Regions from separate parts of the Homo sapiens genome. Here all the other regions are linked to region 4. The links are contacts of gene promoters, found by promoter capture Hi-C in blood cells and fetal thymus (Javierre and others, 2016). All regions are on one chromosome and are shown on one strand. Each heading gives the region's core, a stretch centred on a gene start or on the middle of the fragment in contact. The rest is flanking DNA. Distances are from core to core; before and after follow the strand shown. Region 1 overlaps SAMSN1 (SAM domain, SH3 domain and nuclear localization signals 1). Region 2 has its middle 75 kb from the start of HSPA13. Region 3 overlaps SAMSN1 (SAM domain, SH3 domain and nuclear localization signals 1). Region 4 holds the start of NRIP1 (nuclear receptor interacting protein 1). Region 5 overlaps LOC105369302 (a long non-coding RNA gene).

Region 1 (2,700 bases), core at 161-2,660, 550 kb before region 4:
TTTCTATTCACATGTCATATAATAGGAGAGTAATTTTCTGATTGATCACCCTCCACACTTCCATACATCCTGTTTATTGGCCCTGATTAATTATTCCTCTAAGCAGTTAACATTACCCGATAATATGTTTGTTCATTTGATTATTGTCTGCGTCTCCCACTATGATGCATGCTCCATGAGACTTGAGACTTTGTCTGTTTTCTTTGAGTGTCTAGAGTACTTCCAAGCACAGAGCTGGCACTTGATATTATTTGAATAAATGAAACTTCTCATGTAGAACGTTGCAGATTTTTTTTTCTTGGAGGACATGTTTGGGTTACACGTCCTAAAATACCTTATATTTGCAAGAAAGGAAACTTGAAGGACATCTAGTTTAACACTGCCCACCATTACTGGTAGGTGGACAGGTAGTCATTCACTGAATATAAAAAATGATGGGAAACTTCTCTTTAGTGAACTTGAATATTTTAATATAAAAGTTTAACCACATAGTTAACATCATTATTAATCAATATTATATTTTGCTTCATATCTTACCCCAAATTGCCTATGATAAATATGAATGGACAGCCAATTTAAACCCTCATTGCACTTTATTAATTTCTACATTCAAGGTTGAAATCAAGGCAAAGATTCTTTGCTTAATTCAAAAGTCCTGAATAAAATTTAATTCGGAAGCACTTTAAAATTTTAGAGTTAGCCTTTTTCTTCTCTCTACTTAAACTTTCTCTGTCTTCATTATAAAATTACTTTGCTAACATAAATAAGAAATGTTAATTACTACTTGTGTTACTCTACCATTTCTAAGCTTCAGAAAAATGTACCACACATATTTTTCAGGTTTTTCTAGCGTTATTTACAGAAGCTACAAAGAAATTATGTTTATGTCTTTTGAGTGTTAACATTTTTCTATGCCTTTCTCCATAGCCTGAATTAAATTTCTATTTAAATATTACTTATGGTTTTGTTCTTGTCTTTTTAAGATTTGTCTTCCCCTATAGACTCCAGGCATGAAGTAAGGATTTTCATGTGTTGTTGCAACAGTACTTCCTGAGTGTCTAAGGGAAAACCTGTCATAGAGTAGTTATTTTTTGAATGAGTGCTGGATTGTTGAAAAATATGCACACTATTTTATTAGGTTTGCTAAATTCTTTTACAAATTACTAGGCCACCATTATTAACCAATGAACCTGAATGAACATGAGCTATCTTGTACAGGTTAATTCCAGAATTATAAACTAAATAGCAGTAGAATATATGTATGATTGTGGAGAATTAAAAATTTATACAAAATGCCAACTGAAAATAAAATTATATACAGTTTCTCTCTCTCTCCATATATATACACACACACACACAAACACATATATGTGGCCAGGGGGAGATTTATATGTATATATTACATTTATTACTTACAATTATGTAAATGTTGATTGACTATACAATTATGTACAAGTTTACTCATAAATGTGAATATATACATAATAAATTAATAAAAGGGATCATTACTGAAATTAAATTATTTTAAAATATTACAGATAGTTATATTTGAAAATAAGCATAGGATCTAAAAACCTATTGATCTAAAAACCTATTGATCTAAAAAGAATATATTACCTGTAAGGTTGCTGAATCAGGTTCAATGGTAAACAGTATTTTCAGTTTTCTTAGTAGACACCCCTTCTCTGTACTATTTTATTAGTTGTTGTTGTACCTGTCATTAACCACTTAGCATATGTGGCCCCTACTTTATGAGATAATATGGCAAACTTTGGAGTCAGAGAAAAGGTTGATTTCTGCCTTTGTCATTTACTCACTCTGTAATTTAGAAGTAATTTTATTTGATGAAGCAAGCATATTTCTGCAATGGCAAAATAGATATACTAATAGTTCCTATGTTATAAATAGGTAAATTGTTATAGATAGATAAAGTTAGCATTGTGCTTATTTCATCGTGAGTGCTCAACTAAATGAACATATTATTGAAATTATTACGTAAACTTTATTTTATGGGAAGCTTTTCTTAAGCTACGGTTAAAATGTTCATAGTGTACAAATGTGTATGTAGCACTCACCAATGGGATGTTTCAGTGTACATTGAAGTGTGAGAGTCCAATTGAGCAGCTGTATGCTCTCCTTAACAAATTTACAGTTGGGCCACTTAATCTTGTTCTAATTTAAAGCAATTACAACTTACATAACATTTTATATATATCTATCAAATAATGTGTATAAATACAATGTATGTGTATGTGTACATATATGTATACTCACATTGTTTTATAGTAGAAATACTCAGGAAATTTGGAATTGTCAGTGTCAGTTTGAATTCTATCTTTTCGGGTTCATGTTTTGCTTTCCCAAACATCTGTTAGGCTTCTTAAAATAAGATTTTACTTTTAATGCCCTGCACGGTACTGGGTACTGATAGAGACAGGAAACAGCCAACGGTCCCTTGCGAAACCTCCCCTTCGAGCCTAAAACAGCTTGAAGGCTGAAAAACCAGACTGATGATCCTGGATGAAGCCCACCCTTTCCCAACTGATTCTCTCTTAATAATGCCCACCTGTGCACTGGGGGAAGGGGACGGAGCTATGGGAAGGTCGTGTGGTTTGCTGCAGGGAGGAGCCTGGCCTCTTTTGTTGTTATGTGGTAGCCTGGGATTCAATCTGTAAGGTAGGAGCCTGCTAGCAGGACTCT
Region 2 (2,700 bases), core at 59-2,558, 610 kb before region 4:
GATCCTAAATCAATAGGTTTAGATCTTTTTCTTGTAAATAGCTCAGATTCTTCGATAAAAATTCTCTCATGCATGGATGGTATAAATCTGTCTACCAGCATCCCTAGAGCTAGGAGGAAAAAATAGGACTGGGGATTTCAATATAAATGTATAGACTTTTACTTAGTTCCCATGTTTTCAGTACAGAATACTTGGTTCAAAGTTCTGGTATTGGTATCTCTTAATTCTGAATCGCTCTGCACTACATTCCACATTCTAAATCTCTGGTATTCTGCCAGTGTGAAAGTGGCACAGATCTTTGGCTGAGCAGCATAGAAGGGGAAATCTTGAAGTCTTATTGCCTCTCATACAGGCTTTCAATAAGTCCTCTTATTCCTAGTTCACATTCCCTTGTACTTCTACATGTTAATGGTCTCCCCTAGATTCATGAGATTTTTGAGAGTGTATGAAGCAAATTGAATAATTTTTTTTTCAAATCTACTTACTGCTAGCTTAGGATTTAGCTTCCTGGGGTCTCCAAATTATTTCTTACTTATTCTGCCTTCCCAAATGTTGTGATTATTGTTTTTTTCCCTATGCTGTTTTTCTAAGTTGGAAAACCCCTTATATTGACACTTAAAATTGTATTATGAAAATTTTCAAGCATGTACAAAATTTTTAAGCATGTAAAAAGTACAGAGATAATAATAATAATAAGCTTCTATGTACTCACTTAGCTTCAACAAGCACCAATATATTGTCAATGTATTAATCAACCCCTCTTCTCCTCCTATTCCAACTTCCCACTAGAATGTTTTAAAACAAATCCTAGACACACATAATTTAATTTATAGGTAATGCTCACATTAATGTAACAGGTAAAGACTTAAAAAACCTAATTGTAAAACAACATCAGTAATTATTTAAGATAACCTAGTACCAAAATCCATTTCAATTCTCTCTGATAATCAGAAAAAGTTGTCTTCTTACTTTTCTTTCTTTTTTAAAAAAATTAGAATCTTCATACTGTCTGGCTGATCAGCAAGCAAGCATAGTTGACCCAGTCATCAAACATGAGAAATATGACTGCTGTATCTCCACCCATTTCTGTGGAAGGTTGGTGGCATAGGTAGACATGACCACATGCCCACGACCACTTCAGGAGTCTTCGTTTAAGTCTTTTACCCAAGCACATTTGTTGACAGTGTCTTTAGTCATGCTCAGAAGTGTTATGATTTGGACAAGAAATTATGTAGTCACTCTACGCATATGGACAGGTCCTATCACCAATGGAGAAAGCCCATAAGGAATTTTAATACTTTATTTTCTCTACAAGTCTTAGGTCTTGCAAAGGCCCTACTTTTTAAAATGGGCTCACAATATCCATTCCTCTTCTTTTACCCACTTCCCATTTGAAGAGGGGATTGAATAGTCAGGTTACTTTCCTTTATAGTGTGTAGCATGCTCTTGAGGTATTGCTCAATGTCTTCAGTCCAGAACTTCAGTCTGGGCATGGAATTCTCATTCTACAACCCTAAACTTGAAACATTGACCTTGGGTACAAATGTGAGATTCACTAATTTGAGGGTGGAGATGATTCATAGTACAGTTATTATCATTCTTTAATTAATTACCTGAACAGCTCCTTGTGGCCTGTTCCATCTCCCAGACCCTGTGCCTTTTGTTCTTTGTGTGATTTGGTGCTTAAAAAAAAATCATTTATTTTGAGCTCTTCTTTGTTTGTAAAGGACTTATAGTTCTGCAGCTATGTTAGATTTCATTGTCAGTCTGTTCCCACTTGCTTCATATTATCTTCCAGGAATTCTTTGCTTTTCTGGTTTGTGGTGGTGTAACACCTGACTTTCAAGTGCTTTTATGAGTTTACTTTTTATCATTTTACTTACTGTGTCATTAGAAAAGGGATTTGAGGAAGCAGGGAAGGAAGCTTAACTCAAGAGTGTTCGGTAAGCCATCATGAATGAGAACCTCTATGTGTTTTTTCTTATTATTACAGACTTCTTGAAATTTTATTTCAATTTTTCTCCAGTTTTATATATATTATTTATTTTATATTATATATATAAACTTGCAGAGACAATCTTCCAATAGAAAATCTACTGAATATGACAACAGATGTGCATAGTCATATGCGATCTATAACTGCTAAAATCTCTCACCCAAGAAAAAAGAGATGGGCTTATTCTCCACGATTATAAGGAGAAGTTCTACTAGAAAATTAGAATTCTATTCAAGAAAGATAGATAAAACTGATGTGATTCAGAAAAATGCAAATAAAAATGGTAATTAATTGCCACTACACTCTCACCAGAATGGGTAAATGAGAGAGACTGATATCACCAAGTGTTGGCAAGGATGAAGAGTAACCAGAATTTCTTTACCAGATGGTAGGAGTAAAAGCTGGTAAAAACCATTAGGAAAACTGGCATTGTCTACTAAATCTGAGCACACACAAATCCAGAAATTTAACTTCTGAGTTTATATCCTATAGAAATGCATATATAAGTGCACCAAAAAACACTTAAGAGAATGTTCATAGCAGTATTGTTTTTCAGAAGCCTGAAACTGGAAAGAACCAAATGTCCATCAACAGAAAAATGAATAAGCAAATTATAAATACCCATACATTAGCATACACAGCATATTAATACTATATAGCAATAAAAATGACAAACTGCTGCTACATACAACAGAGCTCAATCT
Region 3 (2,799 bases), core at 146-2,645, 530 kb before region 4:
CTTATAAAGCTTCCTATAAAATACAATATCCAAATTTCCAAACAAAGGGGAGGCTACACTTCTGTCATTTCTCTAGCTATTCATCTGATCTTTCTGAATATTATCTGAACACTTTTCAAGTATAGCTAATACATTTGGCCCCAAACATTTTGCTACCTGCTTGGGATAAAACTTGATTACAGATTCATATTCTGTAAAACGGAAAAGCTAAAATGTATTAGTGCTTTGTTTGGAGAGAAGTGGTCAAGGCTAAAAATTATTTAAAAGGTGCACTACGAATTAAAATAAAATCCAATGGAAAATTATATGTTTAAGAAAGAAGAAGAAGAAGCCTTTGCAAAGTGAGACATCAATTTAGGGGTGAATTTCTGGTGACTGTAAACAATGGAATGAGGCCATTTCTCCTTGGCATGCAAGCACCAACTGGAAGCAAGAATGGGACCGGACAGTGGAAACTTTCTGTCTGCCATCTTTAGACAGCATGTAGTAAGTTACCTATAAACATCCAAATGGATAAAGTAAGTACAAATATATCCCAAATTTAGAGTCTTCTCAACACCAAAGTCAACTGGGCCGTTCCTTTGTCTGAACCACAGTTATCCCTTGCCTGGTTTCTGCAATAGTCTGTTAACTGGTCTCACTCCCTTCAGTATATTTGAAACACAAAAGCCAAAATAAACCCACTAAACTGTAGGCCAGATTCTGTCACTTCTCAAACATCTTTCAACACTAGCTAAAATTATTTTAATGGCCTAGAACGCCTTCAGTGATCCAGCTCTTTGCGGCGGCTCTTCCCGCTATGCACTCTGCCCCACTGCTTCTCAAACACACCAGAGACAGTCCCATTTCAAGGCCTTTGCACTTGCTCTTCCCTCTGCCCAGAGTACAGTTTCCTTCACCAATCCCAAGACCAGCTCCTTCACTTTCTTCCAGTCCTTTTTCCAATGTCCCATTCTCACCAAGGCTTCTCTAGTTCTTCATATTTCAAATCCTTCTTTTCTGTTAATTTTTTTTTCTTCTTGGCACCTATCATTATCTAGCATACTGTATATATTACTTATTTATCCTATTTATTGTCTGTCATCTCCAGCAAATATGGTATCTTTTGTTCACCTTGGTATCGCCAGTGTATTGTCCATAATAAGCATTTAATAGACATTTGTTGCGTTGAAGGATAAATGAATGAACGAATGCATGGATTAGTGAATTAACTTTTAAGTCTTTTGAAAAGTAGAAAAAAGTGCTGCCAGGTTGGAAAACTTTAAAAATTCTTGATGTCCAGTCACATTTTATATTAGGTAAATAAGAATATTTGGGGATGGAACCCAATCATCAGTTTTTTTTTTAAAGCTCTTTAGTGATTCAAATATTCGGCCTAGGCTCCAAAAACCATCAACCTAGAGCATCATTTCCAAATTATAAAGTGCTCACAGAACTGCTGAGTATCTTGTTAAAATGTATGTTTTCATTTCGTAGGCCTGGGGGAGACTGGAAAATGCACATGGCTAACAAGCTCCTGGAATGCCCGTGCTGTTGCTCTATAGGACCACAGTGAGTAGCAAGTTCTTAGATTCAAGTCAGCCTTGATGAACCTTGAGATACATTTTAACATGTTCTAGACTTCATTTTCTCCTGACTTGTCTTATTTGGTTTTATGTTTGCATTATAGTTTATCAAAAATACTTTTTAAAATGCTATAAATGCTACATAAACACAAAAATGAAGACAACCTTTTGAGATATCTGGTTTTTTGTTTTGTTTTGTTTTTGGAGCGGACGGAGGTAATAACTAGAAGTTAAAATAAATATTTACTTATAGCCACCGTTTTTTAAAGGGGAAAAGAGTAAATCTAACATATTACCTACATTTTATATCATGTATTTTATTCCAGAAAACTCTGTTTGAAAAGGCAAACATTCAACAAAAATTGTACCCCAGATGAAGAAGTAATAGAGAGTAGGAGGAGAGAGACACAGGCTTAGAAGCAGAAAAACTGTGCCATAAATCCCAAATCTTTTAACTTGTGGAAAATTTTTGCATCTACAGGGCTTTTTTCTTCTTTGTAAATTGGAGATAAAAATAATGTCTACCTCCTGGGGTTTTGAGAAGATTAAACATAATAATGGACATGAGCACCTTGGACAAGTACCTGGCCTCAAGTAAGCACCAGTGCATATAAATACTTATTCTCTTTCTTATACCTGGTTAGATAAGAGTTAAAAATGTATCCTAGCAGTCTTGATACAAAAAAACAGTGAAGAAAGCTCTTTAATGGTACAACTATGTGTCATCCTTGTCTAGGAGCATAAATTTGCACAGCAGGCAGTGCAGTGAAAACAGCTCATAATCAACTCATCACCTCTCATCATTGCTAGGATCAAATGCAAATGGGAAAGAATGCCACTTCAGTCATTGCTAGTGAAAATTAGCATCTGTGACACTAATGGTGTCTCATTTAGTATGCACTTTAGATTAAAAAGAATGGTTAAAAAAAAGGCTATTTCCAGAACTGTCATTATTCTAACGTTTCCCTCAAAAATAACAATGGTACTTGAATCTCCTTTACTCAAAGAAAAACCTGCTAAAATTTATTAACACGGATCATTAATCCCTCTCAAGTAAAGGCCAAGATGTTCTAATTACAGTCACTAACTTTAATTTGTGGGATCCATGTCTTTCTATTTTCAAAATTTCTTCCATATTCTTTAACCTGGACCAAGTTCTACCTTTAGGTAACAATGGGATTCTTTCATAACATTGGGTATATTAGAGTTCTTAACATAAAGCTTAAAATGAGTT
Region 4 (2,778 bases), core at 202-2,701:
CACAAATTCCCCCAAGAAACAGAAAGAGCATTCATCACATATAACCCGACAACCATTTTTACTATGGACACCTACAGATGGCTTCTCTTCCTCTAAGGACACAATTTCCTTCACAATCCCACATGTAATCATTTACAATACCAGAAACAAACTCCAACTCAGTTCCACCAACTGGGTTTTTAAAAATCCTTGTGCCTAAGAACGTCTTTTTTCCCCAAAGTAAAATGTGCCATTAAAAAATATTTTTAAAACGCAAAAGTGCTTATCATTCCGTACTTCTTTTACTACCTTCAGCAGCCAATTATTGACGTGATAAAAGGTAGAAACTCCTGGAATGCTTCAGAGATCAACATGTGTCACAGACTCCCAGCCTGTCCGCCTCTAAGACACAGTTGGTTCCTTTGTTCCTTCTGACTGAACACCAACTCCTGATCAAAATTGGGAAACTACTTTGGAAGGGATGGGAGGGTCTGCAGAATACATCCACGGAAACCTTCATAAAACAATATTCAATCGTAATAAGGTGGACACAGAAGAAGGGAGAAAAGGCAGCCTCCCGGACTTCCACCGGGCTCACCCTAAATGGGGGCCGGCCCCTGGCTCCTGGTAAAATGATGGCTGAGGCCTCGGGTCCGTGAGCCTCGCCATCGGGAGGGGACCGCGAGTGCGGGCAGAGCGGCCCGGGGTCGGGTGGGGGCCGGGCGAGCTGTCCCTTTTCCTATTCACTTTCCCAGCCGGGTATCCAGCGAGCAAGGAGCAGGGAGGCACCCAGGCGAAAGGCGCCGCCCAGGATCCGGCTGGACAGCAGGACGGAGAGCGGCGAGGCGAGCGGTGCCCGGGGTTCGGGACCGAGAGGGCAAGCGAGCGGGGGCAACCCCGACCCGGCCCCCCGAGTCCGGCCCCGCTCAGGGGCCACGCGACGGCCGCCCCCTTGCCCAGAACTGGCACGGACGGGCGGGCCGACCCGGGGCCACTCCACAACTTGCCGGCCCGCCGCCCCGGCCCCCCGCGAGAACCCGGAGACTCGAACCAGGCAGCAGAGGCAGGATTTCCCCGGAAACGCGCCCTCCCCGCCGCCCCGACGCCCCCGCGGCCCTGCCAGCCAAGCGAGAGCCGACGCGGGCCGCGCTCCCGGGCCGTTTCCGGCGGCGCCGGCGGCCGCTACTCCTGGCGCCCTGGCCGCGGCCGTCACTCACCCCAGGCCGCCGCGGCTCCCAGCCTCCGGCTCCGTCAGGCTCGGTCCGCGAAGGCGCCTGCCGCCCCGTCCTGGCCCGGCGCCCCGGCGAGCTCTTCCCTCCGACCAGCGGCGCTCACGGCGCAGCGGCGGACGCGAGGCCACGGGCGGACGGGCGCGCGCGGGTGGCGGGCGGGCGTGGGGCCGGGTCGTCCCTGCGCCTCGCCGCCGCCTCCTCCGCCGCCGCCTCCCGAGTTCGGGGCTCTGCTGCAATGTCTGCGAGGCTGACTTTGAGCGCCTCGCTCACCGCCCGCCCGCAGCCGCGCTCCTCCCTCCGCCGCCGAGTCCGCCGCGGCCCAGTCCCTCCCCTCGCCGCCCCACGCCATTCAGCTCTTCAGCCAAGTTTCTTAACCCTTTTCTCCCCCTCCCTCCCATTGTCACCCGGTCAGGAGGAAGCCGCGCGGATCCGGGCGGCTCACAGGAGCTGCGGAACCCCCTCTGTTTCGTGGATTTCCTTCTCGCCTGCTCTCCGGGTGTCCCAGACGGGGCTGCAAGACCCGGAGGCAGCGAGAGGACCGCGTCCCCGAGAGAGGGGCTGCACGGCGCGCCCGGGCCGTCCCCCGGGCTCCCAGCTCTGTCCAGCCGCCCGCGACCGCTGCAGGCGCCTGGACAGCTCCTCCTGGGGACCGGGGAAAGCGCTCTTGGGACCCAGGCCGAATGCTCCCGTTTGGGCACAGCCTGGGGGCCGGGGCGCCCCAGACGCTCCAGGGTCCCCGCCTGCCTTAAGCGTCTACCTCCTCCCCTTCACCCCACAACACGCGCTCTCTGGGCCCCCTTTCACCCACCCACCCCCAATTTCTATCTCCTTGTAATCTGTGTGTCCTGCTTTAATGTTGGGGGGCACGGGCGCGAACTCTGGGTCACTTTGACCCCACGCCCAGCACGTAGTAGGCGCCCAGCACTCGTGTGGAGCGACTCTGGGAGGAAAACTAGGAAGGAGACCTGAGGAGCGCCCCGCTCAGCTCCCTGGACAGACGTAGGACCCAGGAGCAGGGTTAATCCTCGGCTGCTTTGTCACTGCGAAGTCTCCAGCGGAGTCTGTCAGCCAATCTGCATCATCCCCGGGAAGGATCTGACCCAACAAGACAAGGGAAAAGGAGCAGGGCTGCTACTTCTTCAGCAGCTCTCCTCGGTTCGGTCTCCGAATAAGAAATAACAATTACATCACGAGGCCGGGGCGGCAGCGCGGTGGAGCCTCTCGGTTTCCTGCAGCCTAATCTCACTGAACCCGCCTCTAAATTGGGGGGGCCACAGATTGGTGAAACGAGAAAGTGGAAGGAGGAGAGAGTCATACGAAACCATAATTTCCCCTTATCCTTGTATTTGCTGTTTGAAAAATCGTATCCTCAACGCTCCCCAGACATCTCACTAGAACTATTAACACCCCCTCAACACCTCCCCAGATGTCAGGTTTCTTTTTGACTTGAGCATCTAGCATTTAGTAATTCGCCATGAAAAAAATTACCAGGGGAAGCGAGTGTTGTTGCTGAAATTGTTTTTGCTTGACACAAAAAAGCTAAAGTACAGCTTAGTCTCACCCGAAA
Region 5 (2,700 bases), core at 40-2,539, 520 kb after region 4:
ACTGGTTTGTAGCTCCTTTTTCATTTTCTTGACTAACAACTCAGTTCTATAAATTGTTTCAGTAGTTCAATAAACAAGTGCTAAATTGTGAGCTCCCTAAGGATAATGACTGTGTCTTATTCAGTAATGTTTACCAGGAGCCTCACTAATACCAGGAAGGCAAGTTTGCCTACATTTACTCGAGAATATATTGTTGTTAATTCTCTAAAGACCAGTGGAGTACATGTTCTCTCAATGTCTATCCACATGGCAAAACTGTGTGAAGAATAACAACCAGACAGACCTCAAATTTGCTCATTTGATGATTTATCTTGTTTGATGAAAGGCACGATAGCCTAAGAAAACTCTCTTTTCTCAGATACTATTTGCCTCAGATCAATAGTATGCAGAAAATACCATCACAGGACAAAAGAAAATTGTCTTGACTGCAACTAGAGCACAAAGGGGAAAAAGATGTAACAATCTAAATTTCAAGAAAGAAGTCTCAGTTAAAAGCATTGCTCTCAGAAGTCTTTTCTGGTGCCTCTGCAGATGATCCTATTAGATGCTAGCAATTGCTAAGATTGAAATACTCCAAGGTGAGAGAGAATGCTTCGGAAACACAGACTAGATGGCCTATGATTCGTTAACTTTATTAAACAGCACTGTATTTCCTGAACAAACAAAAGAGTACACTGGTATGTTCCTGAACTTTTAAAGTTTTGCATTTGATGGAGTTCAGGACACACTAACCCAGGATGTGGCATCTTGACATTTGAGAAAATAGTAGAAACATGAAGGTCACTCTCACCTTCCCCTTGCCCCTTCTCCTCTGAAGCAGGCCATAAAATGTAGAAATAATTCTCTGACCTTCTCTCCTGTAGCAGAGAATAAAATCAGCTGACTTTCCCGTGAAGCAGATCATAAAATCCTGTTTCCTGAGGTGCCCTCCTTGTACCTGGAGGGAAAGAATGTTCTTATCTCTGAAGTCAGAGGGACACAGAGAAGAATCTGAGCAAACAGGCCTTGCTAAGATGGGGTTTGTTACCATTAGATCATACCTTGTTAGTCCAATTACACTTCTGCACAACTCTCCACTCTTCCTCCTACCTAAGCATAAAAATATACGAGTTTCCCTGTTTCTTGGGGTCTTCATTTCTTATTTTACTTTGTTTGTTTCTTTCTTTTTTTTTTTTTCTTTTTTCAAGTAGGAGTCTTGCTCTGTCACCCAGGCTGGAGTGCAATGACACGATCTCAGCTCACTGCAAGCTCCGCCTCCTGGGTTCAAGAGATTCACCTGTCTCAACCTCCTGAGCAGCTAGGATTACAGGCATGCACCACCACTCCCAGCTAATTTTTGTATTTTTATTAGAGACAGGGTTTCACCATGTTGGCCAAGATGGTCTCGAACTTCTGACCTCAAGTGATCAACCTGCCTCTGCCTCCCAAAGTGCTGGGATTACAGACGTGAGCCACTGTATCCGGTGGGTCTTCATTTCTGAAGGCTCCCATGTCAGGCAAAACTTATATTAAATAGATTTGTTTTTCTCTTGTTAATCTATCTTTTGTTACAGGTGCCTTAGCTGGGAACATTGAAACAGGTAAGGAAAAGATTAACACTTTTTCTCCTTTGCACATTTAACTTAATTAGAGTACACCAGACTCCAAGTCTCTCTTACTTCTTGCTTTCTTACCCCATGCCTAGCTTTAATTCAAATTTGGTTTAAATGGTTAATTGCCTTAGAAGCCTGGTAAAGTAGTTTTTATGTTAACTAAACATCAAATGTGAGTAAATCACTCTGCTAGATGCTTTACATAGTCTACCCAATTTTCCCTTAAACAACTTCCCAAGGCTTATGTTTTTTTTCCTATTTATTCTTAGGAAAACTAAGAGTCAAGTGATCAAGTAACCATCAAGGAAACATTCATAATCTTTCCATTGGACCAGGTCTATCTCCATGTTTATTCAACACACAGTGGCGTCAAATGGTATCCTCTTTATAAAACTTGCTCAAATTAGGGATTCTTCCCCCTCCTTCCCCATCTCCACCTGGAACTCCAAGGTATGAGAGCAATCTGGCTCATCCCTTCAATCTCCCAGGTGAACCAGCATCCAAAGAATTCCTAGCAAGAACAACTTGGCATAGTGAAAAACAACGTGCCAGTTGAGGAATTAGATGTTCTGGGCTCCATTCACCTGACCAGCTGTGTTACCTCTGCCTGATGATTTAACTGCTCTTAGCCTTATGTTCCTTATCTTTCACTGAGGTTAACCATCTAGTTACATAGAATATTTTAGTTTGAGTTATAATGGAATCTCTAAGAGAATAGGTATATGTTGTAAGTATTCTTTAAATTAACATTTAATCCATAAACTGCAAATTAGGGACATTGCCCACACTTTTTAATTTTATTTTATTTTATTATTTTTGAGATAGGGTCTCACACTGTCACTCAGGCTGAGTTGCCATGACACAATCATGGCTCACTGCCGCTGTGACCTCCTGGGCTCAAGCAATCCTCTCACTTCTCAGCCTCCTCAATAGCTGGGGCTATGGGTGCCTGCCACCATGCCTGGCTGATTTCTGTATTTTTAGTAGAGATTTGGTCTCACAATGTGGCCTAGGCTGGTCTCGAACTCCTGGGCTCAAGTGATCTGCCTGCCTCAGCCTCCCAAGGTGCTGGGATAGCAGGCATGAGTCACTGTTCCCAGCTGCTCAC

What was found. The method cuts DNA at HindIII sites, captures the fragments that hold promoters and counts their contacts. A CHiCAGO score of 5 or more calls a contact.
Region 1: a contact is called between a fragment that was not itself captured here and the fragment with the promoter of NRIP1 in region 4, in 1 of 17 cell types (erythroblasts). The highest score is 5.3, in erythroblasts.
Region 2: a contact is called between a fragment that was not itself captured here and the fragment with the promoter of NRIP1 in region 4, in 1 of 17 cell types (erythroblasts). The highest score is 6.7, in erythroblasts.
Region 3: a fragment that was not itself captured here is called in contact with the fragment with the promoter of NRIP1 in region 4 in 1 of 17 cell types (fetal thymus); the score reaches 5.1 in fetal thymus.
Region 5: a contact is called between a fragment that was not itself captured here and the fragment with the promoter of NRIP1 in region 4, in 5 of 17 cell types (naive CD8 T cells, naive CD4 T cells, total CD4 T cells and 2 more). The highest score is 7.1, in naive CD8 T cells.

Annotation. Positions count from the first base shown.
Region 1 is chr21:14,518,158-14,520,857 of GRCh38, forward strand. All of the region lies in intron 2 of SAMSN1 (SAM domain, SH3 domain and nuclear localization signals 1), which reads right to left. All of the region lies in intron 1 of LOC124905053 (a long non-coding RNA gene), which reads left to right. Among named protein-coding and RNA genes, the nearest start is that of SAMSN1, 27 kb to the right of the region's middle. The HindIII fragment of the contact is 1,209 bases long and covers 807-2,015 here.
Region 2 is chr21:14,456,833-14,459,532 of GRCh38, forward strand. No RefSeq gene overlaps it. Among named protein-coding and RNA genes, the nearest start is that of HSPA13, 75 kb to the left of the region's middle. The HindIII fragment of the contact is 1,227 bases long and covers 696-1,922 here.
Region 3 is chr21:14,536,370-14,539,168 of GRCh38, forward strand. The region is part of intron 1 of SAMSN1 (SAM domain, SH3 domain and nuclear localization signals 1); the gene reads right to left. LOC124905053 (a long non-coding RNA gene) reads left to right here. Exons shown (of 3, transcript XR_007067925.1): 2 at 1,477-1,551; 3 at 2,047-2,159. Among named protein-coding and RNA genes, the nearest start is that of SAMSN1, 8.5 kb to the right of the region's middle. The HindIII fragment of the contact is 2,777 bases long and covers 8-2,784 here.
Region 4 is chr21:15,063,549-15,066,326 of GRCh38, forward strand. NRIP1 (nuclear receptor interacting protein 1) reads right to left here and starts at 1,452. Exons shown (of 4, transcript NM_003489.4): 1 at 1,197-1,452. RefSeq lists silencers at 684-1,543, 1,794-1,973 and an enhancer at 2,304-2,353. The HindIII fragment of the contact is 10,218 bases long and covers 1-2,778 here.
Region 5 is chr21:15,586,315-15,589,014 of GRCh38, forward strand. The region is part of intron 1 of LOC105369302 (a long non-coding RNA gene); the gene reads right to left. Among named protein-coding and RNA genes, the nearest start is that of USP25, 140 kb to the right of the region's middle. The HindIII fragment of the contact is 2,851 bases long and covers 1-2,700 here.